Regions from separate parts of the Homo sapiens genome. Here all the other regions are linked to region 3. The links are contacts of gene promoters, found by promoter capture Hi-C in blood cells and fetal thymus (Javierre and others, 2016). All regions are on one chromosome and are shown on one strand. Each heading gives the region's core, a stretch centred on a gene start or on the middle of the fragment in contact. The rest is flanking DNA. Distances are from core to core; before and after follow the strand shown. Region 1 overlaps ERN1 (endoplasmic reticulum to nucleus signaling 1). Region 2 holds the start of PRR29 (proline rich 29). Region 3 holds the start of CD79B (CD79b molecule). Region 4 has its middle 4.1 kb from the start of ICAM2.

Region 1 (2,700 bases), core at 38-2,537, 110 kb after region 3:
CCCTCCTCTCCCTTCCTGAAAGGCCTGTAGACTGACATTAAGCAGGAATTTAAAAAGTCTGAAGCAAGTTTATCCAGTAGATGGCTGGGGGTGCTACTCGCGCTGTCTCTGAGGCCCTCCTTTGCAGACATCATGACCGTAAGGCTTTTGGGGCCAGCATCTTCCCAGTTCCCTGTAGGTCACGAGGGGCCACTTCTCCCACTTCCTGGGGTCAGCACTGTCCTCTGTGGGCTGCAGAGCAGGCAGCTCAAGGCACTTGGTTTGGGAAGCCTGGTCTCCCTGCAAAGCCGGGAGGCATCAAGCTCTAATTGTGGTGACCAGGCCCTCAGTCACAGCTGGGGCCACCAGAACAGAGGGGCCGCCCTCGCTCAGAGGGCGTCTGGAGTCACTGGGGGCTGGGGCTCTGGGGGCTCGTGGAAGTAGTAGGGCTGGAAGAGTCTCTCGTGGCTGCACAGCTCCATGGCCCGGTAGGTGTGTGCGAGGAGGTGGGGGAAGCGAGATGTGAAGTAGCACACGAAGTCGTCGGGGAGGGACCCCAGCGTCTCCCGCACCTCTGCAGGCAGCTCCCGGTAGTGGTGCTTCTGCAAAGAGTTAGAAAGCTCGGGAGATTAGAAAGGGGTTAGAAAGCTCGGGAAATGTTGGCAAAACACCCTTTCATCATGCAAGGAAGAGACAGAATGTGAGTGTTGGTTTTTGGTAAAGAAAAAGAAAAAAGGCTTATGTATCCAAGAATCCAGCCCCGTCATCTCGCCTGCTACCCTCACTCAGGAGGAGGCCTTGAAGTGAGCAAGGCCCAGCCAGTCCAGGGGGTGCTCAGGCCTTCTGTGACAGTCAGGACCTGGAGACACTCCTGGCCACCTCAGGAGGAGTAAAGTCGCCTGAGATTGGAGTGTCCGTCCCAGTGGGGTCCCCGCATTTGAGGTATGTTTATACATGTTTACACACAGTGGCTGCATCAGACAGGGAGAGGGCCCCACAAAAGTCAGCGACCAGAGACCATGAGGGACATGGGCCGCAGAGCACTGCTTCCCGGAGCTTCACCTGCACCTACGTCCCTGAAGGGAAAATCAGCGTAAGAGAGGCAACAGCCTGCAGTTTGCCAAGTCCAGCTGAAGCCGCCTAGCTCCTGAGAGATGAGAATGCCAGTACAGATAAAAGATTTATAAAGAATGGATGAAAGGAGGAAGGTGTCCATGTCATGGCCACTGGGTCTCCTCCCCAGCATTTACAAACTGCTTACCTTATTTCTCATGGCTCGGAGGAGATCTCTGACAGAACCACCTTTATAGGTCCTGAATTTACGCAGGTCTAGAAAAACATTGAGGGAAGCAATGGGTAATCAAATTTAAAACTAATACATTTTAAAAGAAAACAATTCATGGGGTCCTGGGATTAGGGAGTTGGACTGAAAGGTGAGGTCACTCCACACCTAGGCATGGGAGCAGATCCTCCCATCCAACCCAAGGGTGGTATCCCCCTGAACCCCACCTGGTGATCACACCCAGGTCAGAAATGACCACCTAGAGCACGACACCATCACTCACCTGTCACTCTAGGGAACAAAAATGAAACACACATCAGTGTAACCAAACCACAGAGGACACACCCAAGAAAGTCTCAAACCTGACAGGTGGGATGTGGGGCCTGAACAGCCTGGAGCGGCCATTTCCACGTTTACTTTTTGGAAAGGCGGCAGCGACTTTTGCAACCTGCCCTCTCACACGCTGCAGCATGATCACCTGTCTGGAGGGGGACAGTGATGTTCTCCCGCCAGTCCATCTTCACCACGGCTCTCCCGCCTCTCTCTAACTGCTTCACGATCGGGCCATCCAGGGATTCCTTTTCTATTCTGTCGCTCACGTCCTGTGAGAGAAACAAGGGCAGCAGATGATGGTCAGTGCTGGAGATGCTGAGAGCTGTGCGACTGGGACTCAGTAACAGATCATCACTGACACATAAGCCTGCCCCAGAGCTGGGCAGCAGGCACCCTGCCCCCTCCCTCCCTCATCCATGACTTTCCCTGTGAGCTGCTCTGTTCCTCACGAAGCACAGGCCCACAGAGAGCTTCTCCCATGTCAGAGAGGTGTCACAGAGTACACCTGCATATAGACCACGAACGCATACCCTGAATTTCACATGTGCACACACACGCCATGTGTACGGAGCCGCAAGTGCAATCTATATCCAATGAACCAAAACCAAAAAGAAAAGGAAAGCTCAGATTTGATGTGCATCCCGTGCTTTGTCTACTCACTGAAACAGGGTATGCTCAAGCCCATAACTGGTGGAGGGTCGCCACTCTTCCCTCCACCAGTAGAAAAGACCTGTGAAGCTGGGCCTTCTTCTCAAAGAGGAAACTTGGTGGCAAGAGTATGGGCTCCAGAGGCTCCTGTTGGGATTCAAACCTTGCTCTGCATTTGACTTTGGTAATAAGGAGAGGGTCAGGAAGCACCCAAGTATGGCCTCTTGAAGTCCCACCAGTAAGACAGGTCGACAGCTGAGGACACAGGGAGTGGTGAGCCCTGTCTACATCAATGTTAAGTAGCCTTAGGAGACCCTTTTCTCAGAGCAGCCTTTTCTATGATGAAGATGAAGCCAGACTGGCTGAACTCCTAATTTACAATTGTCAGAGAGAAGCTGTGGAGAGGTTAGATTGTCAACTTGGGTACACTGGGAACACACGTGTCTGAGCTGCAAAGC
Region 2 (2,915 bases), core at 345-2,844, 66 kb after region 3:
GGCCACAGCACTTGGTATCTCCCTTTTGCTTGAAACCCACTGATAGCTCTCCATTACCCACAGGGCCAAGCCTAAATTCCAAACCTTGGCATTCCAAACCTTGGCCTGTCCCTGGACCTCTGCTCTCTGCCCAGCTCCTCTTCTACAGTCAGACAGTTTGACCCACCGGGTCATCTCAGGTCCTGTCCATTCATACACCTGGGTCTTGGCTTGGGCTCTGTCCCCAGCCTGATAGCGCCCGTCTTCCCCTGCTGCTTGGCCCCATCAAGGACTGACTTCCTTGGAACTCCATCCCTCAGCGGTCAAGTCCTCTCTTTTTCATTATCCCCGGGGCGTAGTCTTATCTTTCTGCTCTCTTTCCATGGATACATTTTCACTTCCCAACAATGCTGGGACAAGTGACCATACTGCTTATGCCTCCAGGGTTCAGATGGCACATTGCACACGCAGACACTTCCTTGGTCAAGGTTTGTTGATGATGAGCAAAATGGCTTGTTCTCTTTCTACCTGGAATGAGAATGGAGATGGAGAGAGGCATCTCTGTGTTCTACTCACTGGGGGGCTGTGACCCCAGTGCCTGGATCTCAGCTTGTTAATGGCTGTTGAAGCCATAAGACCCATGGGGACAGTAAAGTAATGCCCACAAGCCTGCTCCCCTAGAGACAGGTACTACGGAGCAAAGGAGGAGGTGGGAATGGTCTTTCTGGTTCTTACTCCAGGACTGGCAGGAAGGGGAGCTGACATGGAGAGTGGGGGAAGGGCTACTCGGGGTGCTAAGCCCAGCTTCCTGTCTGGATTTTCCTTGACTGCTGCCGGGGGCCTATCTTAGGATGGTCACAGCTGCAGAAATAGATCTCCCCCTTCACCTGTTCTTAAGCAAGGAAGACCTTGCTAACTTCCTGTCAAAAGAACGCGTGCTTTGGTAACTTTTCCAGTACGGGAGACAGTACTGGGGACGCGGGTGCTGAAGTCACCACGATTTTCCTCGTCTGAGGAGCAGTGGCTCACCTTGGCCAGGAAACAGGGCAAATAGCCGCAAGGAGAGAGGCGAGAAGCCGGCCACGTGTTTCCAGCCAGAGTCCTCAGCCTCTTCCGTGAATTCGGGCGGTGTTTCCTTCCTTGGTCTGCTCCAGAAACCACTCTTTCCTGGCAGGAAGCCCCTCTCTCTGTCAGAGTGACAGGGAACAGACCCTTTGTCCTCCTCACTCGTCTGCCCTAGCCCCCAGCCTGCTCCTGCAAAAGTCTCTGTTTCTCCTGAACTTTTCAGCTGAGTCAATCGGGCTCTGGGACCCCGAAACCAAGCCTCCCCAGTCACTCGCTTATTCACTCAACAAACACACCCCCCTTCCCCGCACTAACCCAGGCCCAGTTCTGGGAACCAGCAAGGGGAGGGGAGGGGAGCCCCGAGCAGCGCGGCGGGAGGTGGACATGCCGGGGAGGAGACTGGCCTCCTGGTGGCGGGGGAGGGCTCCTGGGGACCCCAAGTCCGCGGAGGAGGAGACAGGAGGGAGCAGGGAGATGGAAGACCCAGGAGCACGGGCGGGCTCCGCGCATGCGTGGGAAGAGACCTTGGCGTCCTCGGCGTCGCCAAGGCAACCGGCGCCAGCCATGGCCTCTGGGGCGGGCGGAAGCTGGGGTCGCTCCCCACCGCAGAGCGCAGTCCCGACGGTGAGGGCTGAGCCCGGGAGCAGATCCTGCCTTAGCTTGGGAGACGGCAGAGTGGGGAGCTGTCCCTGGAGGGGCCAGATCCTGGAGGGGTGGGGGACGAGGAGAGACAGCCCCAAACCGAGAGGAAGAGGCGTGGCAGGGAGCAGGGAGGCCGCGGGGCGGGGAGGAGAGAACCTGGCCCCTGCGGGGTTAGGGAGGCCACTGGCCGGGGGGGTTGGGGCTCGCGACGTGTCCCCATCCATTCCCCCCACCCCACCTGGCTGACTCCGCGCACACCCCCAGCCCTGGGTCACCTTCCTGCAGCCCCTCTCGTGGGCCGTCCCACCTGCGCCCCCGCAGCCAGGCCGCGTGAAGGAAGGTGAGACTCCCGGGTCCCCCCACCCCACCCCCACCATCACCACCACTCACCCTCTTCTGCCTCGCACATCCTCTGGGAGTCCCCGCAGCACAACCCGCCAACCCATTCTTCACCCCCGGGACAGGGGTGTCAGGGGGAGGGGGACTCGGAGGCCCGGCGTGGGCTTGCTGAACCCCGCTTCCTAGACCTGCTGGAACTGATGATGCTGCAGAACGCGCAGATGCACCAGCTGCTGCTGAGTCGCCTGGTGGCTGGAGCGCTGCAGCCCCGGCCTGCCTCGCCCTGCCCTCAGGTGCGTGTGGGTGGGCCGCCGGGGTCGCTCACCTGTGGGTCCAGGGATGCGGATCCACCTGGGGTTCCTGTTCAGGGGGGAAAAGAACTGGGAGACAGAGGAGCAGGAAGCCAGCCCGTCTCTCTGGCTGGGGCTGTTTGGCATCTGTCATGTTTCAGCCTCCATGAAAGGTTGGGGCGGGGAAGAGACCCCCCAAAGTCCAGACCACCGAGGTCTTGTTTTCAAGGAGGTTTCCCTGTAGTGCCTCCCCCACTGGACTTAAGGCTCCAGGAAGGTAGGCACCCTGGTAACCCTGCCCCATGCATCATGAGCGTCTGGCCTGGTGCCTGACACCGTGTAGGGGCTCAGCTGATATTTGTTGAACGAGTGAATGAATAAATGAATGGTTAGGGATACAAAGCCAGGTTGGCTGTGATGGCACATGGAGAGGTACAAAGCACAAGTGCACATAGGGTTGGGGGATGGGGACAGGCTCCTTGGAGGAGCAGAGGATCTTAGAACCAGCCCTTGAAAGCCAGGTAGGATTTTGACCCTTGGAGGAGGCGAAGGGTGTGTCCCCCATCCAGGCTGGCAGGGGCAGAGTCAGGAGACAGAATG
Region 3 (2,700 bases), core at 94-2,593:
CACATAGTGACCCTGCACTGGAGGGCTCACCCGAGACTCAGCCAGATTCCCAGCTAGACAGGCCCGGGCCTGAGTCCTAGAGGAACCCCCAGGCTCCCTTGCTATGACCCAGAGTTTAGCCCAGCCCTTCAGTGGCCAAGGCTGGAGGGCATGTGTCTGATGAGGATGACAGTGGGCTGGGGGTGGGGCTCAGAGGAGATCCTAAGGAGGCCTGGGGATGGGAATCCTGGATGGGGAGATCAGGCAAGGGTGGGAAGGCGGACCGCCCCCAGGACAGGGACCATAGTCGGACACAGGACATAGTCGCACACAACTTGCCCTCAGAAGCGGCAGGCGAGGCTACTGACCTTTGGGATTCCGGTACCGGTCCTCCGATCTGGCTGCTGGTACTGGCTCAGCTGCTGGGTGGGAGGAAGTGGGCGGGGCCAGTCAGGGCCTCCTCTGGCCTGGGCTGCCCCACCCCTGCATGCCCTCTATGTTCCCGGAGCTACTTCCTCCTTCCATGACAGCAGCTTCAAGACCCCTCGGTCCTCCCTGCCCCCAGTACTTGGGAGACAGATATGGGGTGGGGGTACCGGAAGCCCTGCCCCCAGCCCCCTTTCTGCCTTTGACCCTCATGGTGGCTTTGAGCAGGCATCTGAATGAGACAGGAGGGACAGGGAAATCTCAGTATTTTGAGAGGCCAAGACAGGAGGATCGCTTGGGTCCAGGAGTTTGAGACCAGCCTGGGCAACATAGGGACACCCTGTCTCTCTTTTTTTTTTTTTTTTTAAAGAGAGACAGGAAGAAAGTCACAGCCCGGAGGATCTTTCACCTCCCAGAGGAGGGGACCACATTTGGATCTTGCATCTTCCAGGGTCCGGTTGGGACAGCCTCTCCCCTCCCGACCCCCAGGCACCGCCCTCAGCCTCTCTTCCTCCTGAGCCTAGTTCTTCCACGGTCCTGGTTGCTAACTCTGGTTTGCTCCTCATGCCCAGCTCAGCCTGATGCTCTCCAGGCAGGAGAGGAACTGGGGCCACAGGCTCCTGAGCCCATCACCACGTGCAGCTGACACCCACAGACCCAGGCCCCAGGGCCATGAGAGGGAGACAGGCGGTAAAGAGTGAGAGACAGAGGAGGAGGGTGGAGCAAGCAGGAGGCAGAGCCGCAGGGCCCAGACAGCTGGAGATGAGAGCAAACCCCACAGGCCTCGTCGTGGGTTCTGTACCTGAGAGCAGCAGCAGCAACGCCACCATCCAGTGGCTGGGCACAGGAGACAACGCCAGCCTGGCCATGGTCACCGCTCTGTCCCCGACCCCAAACCCGTGACAACGTCCGAGGCTCCTTGGAGGAAAACGTGTAACTGCACCGGCTGCAGCCTGTCCCCTCCCCGCCTCTTCCTCACCAGGCCCCTTCCTGCCATGCAAATTGGGACCCAGGGGAGGCACCAGCTCTCCGGGGACCCTGGGGGAGGGCAGGCTTTTGTCAGCTGGGCCGCTAAGGTTTGGCGGTCGCCCAGCTTGGGCAGCACAGCTGGGGTCCTCTGTGGATGCCTCTGGGGGGCCTCTCAGTCTTCTGGGGGAAGCCTGTGCTCCCCTCTGTCTGTGCTTACCCCACCGGTGGTCATCCCCTGGGCCAGCCAGCCTCCCCTCTGCCGTCTGCCAACTCCCCGAAGGGCCGAGCCCGGCAAGTCTCTATTCCTGGGCCGTGAGCGAAATAGGCACCTGTCCTATGAATGAACCTGAACTTAGCTCCTCTGTCCTGAACTATTCCTCACCCAGCGGGAAGAGGAGCACTGAAGAAGGACAGGGCAGCCACAGACCCAGGTCAGGCATCTGGAGGGGCCCAGAGCAGAGCCTCTTGGCTGGAGTGCAGGCAGCCATGTTGGAAGTTGACCCTGTGGAGGATGGGAGCCACAGAGGTTCTGGAGCAAGAGCAGGTCAAGTGTGGCAGCCACTGGGAGAAGATTCAGTCCAGGTCTTGGTGAGAGGCCTCCCTTCCTCATGCTGTGAAAGAGTATGTAGGGGCTGCCAAACAGGGTGGATGTAGGTGGAGACAGCTTTGCGAAAATCCACCACGCAGCCACTGGGGGCTTCTTCAGGGAGTTCTTAACTGTGGGACTCTGAGTGCGTTGAATTGTTGTCTGCAGGTCCAGGGGGTCTTGGGCAGGGAACAGGAGCTGGTGTGGGGGAGCCCTCAGGTCCTCCAGCTGTATCCTGCCTGTCCTCAGAGTGCTGGATGGAGCCACAGTGCTCAGGAACTGATATAAACTCACCTTTGCGCCCCTGCCCCTGGGTCCAATGCAGCCCCTTCAGAGATGCCCTTGTGCAGGGCACAACATGCACAAGTGTACACAGCATGCTTGCAGACCTCAGCCCTGCAGCTGAGCCCTCTGAATTTTATGTTTCCTGGCAGCTTCTTTTTTGTCTCTCATCCTCGACCCCCAGGAGAGGAAGAGATGCTAAATCGTCGGTGCCCTCTGTCCACCTCTCACTCTCCTCACAACCCTCCGTTTTCCAGTCTGTGCTGGGGCAGGTCTGTCTGGATTTAGGGAGAAGCAGAACCACCTCCCATGCCATGGTTGGAAGGCAGAGGGTCTGGGTGGTCCCTCTTTAGATCTTGGCCTAGGCCTCGGACCTGATAAGGTGGGGGCCACTCTCAAGGGGTGCAGGCCAGGACCTGAGCCACGGAAGTCAGGGGCAGGAGGGTTAAGGTTTCATC
Region 4 (2,700 bases), core at 110-2,609, 92 kb after region 3:
TTTTTTCCTTTCTTTTTGAGACAGAGTCTTGCTCTATCGCCCAGGCTGGAGGACAGTGATGGTGTGATCTCAGCTCACTGCAACCTCTGCCTCCCAGGTTCAAGGGATTCTCCTGCCTCAACCTCCTGAGTAGATGGGATTACAGGCATCTGCCACCATGTCCACCTAATTTTTGTATTTTTAGTAGAGACGGGGTTTCACCATATTGGCCAGGCTGGTCTTGAACTCTTGACCTCAAGTGATCTGCCTGCCTCGGCCTTCCAAAGTGCTGGGATTACAGGAGTGAGCCACTGTGCCTGGCCAGAACTGCCTTCCTTTTGAAGGCTGAGTAATATTTTATTGTGCGTGTGTGCTGCATTCTGTTCATCCATTCATATATTGAGGGACACCTGTGTTGCTTCCACCTTTGGCTATTGTGAATAGTGCTGCTATCAACAGGGTTGTACAAATACCTGATCGAGACTCTGCTTTCAATTCTCTGGGGCATGTACCCAGAAGTGGAAATGCTGGATCATACTGGTAAAATATACACAACAAAATTTACCATCTTAACCTTTTTTCTTTTTTTCAGTGGTAATTCTGGCTGAGGTGAGTGGCTCACACCTGTAAATCCAGCACTTTGGGAGGCTGAGATGGGAGAATTGCTTGAGCCTAGGACTTCAAGACCAGTCTGGGTGACAAAGTGAGACCCCGTTTCTACAAAAAAAAAAAATTAAAAAGGTAATTTTGTTTAATTTTTGAGGATTCACCATCTTGTTTTCCTTACTCCTCCCTTTGATGTGCAGTTTCTGTACTCAATGGGGTCTTCTGTGAATGAGGCAGTTCCAAGACAAGCTGCCTTCTGGTCCCCCAAGTGAGGCAGGCGAAGATCACAGAGCTGAGCCTTCGCTGGCTGTGACACGCCACTCCACAAAAGCCTCTTATTAGCGACTAAGAGCCATTACGTCATCAAATCTTATCAGACCTGCCACCTTGCCTAGCAATTTTACAACAATTACTCTAGAAGAATGACTTTGTACAAACAAGCAGAAAGTATGAACGCTGGCCATCTATGCAAGTTTTAACAATCCAGGTGCTAGATCCACCCAGAACTTGCAGATTACCCTGTGTACCCACTTCGTGAGCTGCACACACAGTCCTGCTGTTCTGTTGTGTAGCCAGAGTTGAGACCCCTTTACGTACTTCCTCAGGCAACATTTGGGCCAAATCCCACTCTGGAAACCTCCTCCCTCAACTTTGTGGCCTCTGAGCAGATCACTTTCCATTTCCATTTATTTCTTTTTCTTCTTTGCTTGGTTTCTGGCACATTCCTCTTTGAACTGCCAAGATCATGCTAGGTAAATGTTTATTGAATGTAAGCTAGCAGCTTGGTTTTAGGAGACACATATTTTATAGCAAGGGGTTTCAAACTTGAACGTGTGTCAGGATCACTGGGGGGCTTGCCGCAACAGCCCACCGGGCCCCATCCCTAGAGTTCCTGAGTAGTAGGTCTGGAGGGAGGCCTGAGAATTTTTTGCATTTCTAACAGGTTCCCAGGTAATGACGCTGCTGCTGGCATCAGTATCACCCGGGAACTTCTTAGAAATGAGGACCACACTGTTTCAGCGGAATACGAAAGTGTTCTCAATTCACATAGCGTCCAGCTAATCAAAACCACAAGTAGAAACTAGAGGTGTCACCAGCCTATAGACTGACTAACAGAGACTGTGAGCTCAGTCTGGCAGAGTGGAATTATAAGGCTGTGTGACCTTGAGCAAGTTGTGTAACCTCTCTGACCTTCAGTTTGCTTATCTGCAAAATGGGATAATAATAATAGCCAACGTTTGTGACATGCTTACTACATATGCCACACACTGTTCTAAGCACTCCACAGTAAGTATCATCACATTTCATCCTCATAACAAGCCTATGACTCGATACTGTTGTTATGCCTCTTACAGATGAAGAACGTGAGACATGGTACAGTAGATGGCGGGCAGTAGCTGGCACACAGCCAGCAAGAGGCTGAACCAAGATTCCAATCCAGGCAGTTGGGACCCAACGTCTGAGCTTTCATACTAGGGAGCCCCTCTCACCCCCTTCAGACCCCCCCTCAAGGGCTTCTGAGAGGAAAGTGTGATGATTTGTAAAACGCTGGCTGATAGCCTGGTACACGGAAGCACTCAACAAAGTTTGTGGTTATTGTGAGTTGGTGCCCGGACGTGCACCTATCTGTGTCCTTGTAGGCTGTGCCCAAGGACATCCCAGCACGTGTGTTGACTATTGCACAGATCCACAGAATATCAGACCCCAAAATCATGCCCGTTGGACAGGAGGGGGCTGTCCATATTATGTAATGTGTTAATTCTTGGGTCCTTGGATGGGACAAGGTTGTGAATATGCATCACTTAGAAAACTTATCAGCGAGCGAGGAATGGAGTTGTTTACAAAACCAAGCCCTTGACGTCTTCCTGGACCTCAACCTCATCTCATCAGCTCCCCCTACGGAGTGGGGCGGAGGCGGCGGAAACGCTGAACGCTCAGGGTCGACAGGAGCAGGGGCTGCACTGCCCGCCACCTAGTGGCCAAAGTGAGCAGGTCCCCTAAAAGACACGACGCCCCGCGATCTGCGGTAAATCACATTCCTTGCGATTCTGCAATCACAGGTAGATTTGGAATGGGCTAGGATCCCCTGAGAGACTGTTTATAAGGAGGGCGGTC

Evidence for each region. The method cuts DNA at HindIII sites, captures the fragments that hold promoters and counts their contacts. A CHiCAGO score of 5 or more calls a contact.
Region 1: a contact is called between a fragment that was not itself captured here and the fragment with the promoter of CD79B in region 3, in 3 of 17 cell types (total CD8 T cells, naive CD4 T cells and naive CD8 T cells). The highest score is 6.8, in total CD8 T cells.
Region 2: the fragment with the promoter of PRR29 here is called in contact with the fragment with the promoter of CD79B in region 3 in 17 of 17 cell types (naive CD8 T cells, endothelial precursors, total CD8 T cells and 14 more); the score reaches 24.7 in naive CD8 T cells.
Region 4: a contact is called between a fragment that was not itself captured here and the fragment with the promoter of CD79B in region 3, in 13 of 17 cell types (total B cells, naive B cells, total CD8 T cells and 10 more). The highest score is 12.7, in total B cells.

What each region holds. Positions count from the first base shown.
Region 1 is chr17:64,043,620-64,046,319 of GRCh38, forward strand. ERN1 (endoplasmic reticulum to nucleus signaling 1) reads right to left here. Exons shown (of 22, transcript NM_001433.5): 20 at 1,740-1,863; 21 at 1,241-1,308; 22 at 1-581. The coding sequence ends at 369. Among named protein-coding and RNA genes, the nearest start is that of ICAM2, 24 kb to the left of the region's middle. The HindIII fragment of the contact is 4,060 bases long and covers 1-2,700 here.
Region 2 is chr17:63,996,757-63,999,671 of GRCh38, forward strand. PRR29 (proline rich 29) reads left to right here and starts at 1,595. Exons shown (of 6, transcript NM_001164257.2): 1 at 1,595-1,668; 2 at 1,951-2,026; 3 at 2,212-2,318. The coding sequence starts at 1,609. It overlaps PRR29-AS1 (PRR29 antisense RNA 1), which reads right to left. Exons shown (of 3, transcript NR_126169.1): 1 at 1,569-2,915; 2 at 1,009-1,166; 3 at 1-507. RefSeq lists a silencer at 1,478-1,527 and an enhancer at 1,781-2,758. The HindIII fragment of the contact is 13,369 bases long and covers 1-2,915 here.
Region 3 is chr17:63,930,988-63,933,687 of GRCh38, forward strand. CD79B (CD79b molecule) reads right to left here and starts at 1,344. Exons shown (of 6, transcript NM_000626.4): 1 at 1,208-1,344; 2 at 348-398. The coding sequence starts at 1,274. RefSeq lists a silencer at 194-263 and enhancers at 961-1,350, 1,324-1,994, 1,851-1,960, 1,971-2,020, 2,594-2,700 and 2 more. The HindIII fragment of the contact is 15,563 bases long and covers 1-2,700 here.
Region 4 is chr17:64,023,414-64,026,113 of GRCh38, forward strand. No RefSeq gene overlaps it. Among named protein-coding and RNA genes, the nearest start is that of ICAM2, 4.1 kb to the left of the region's middle. RefSeq lists cis regulatory regions at 753-1,190, 2,292-2,700 and an enhancer at 2,335-2,384. The HindIII fragment of the contact is 2,924 bases long and covers 1-2,700 here.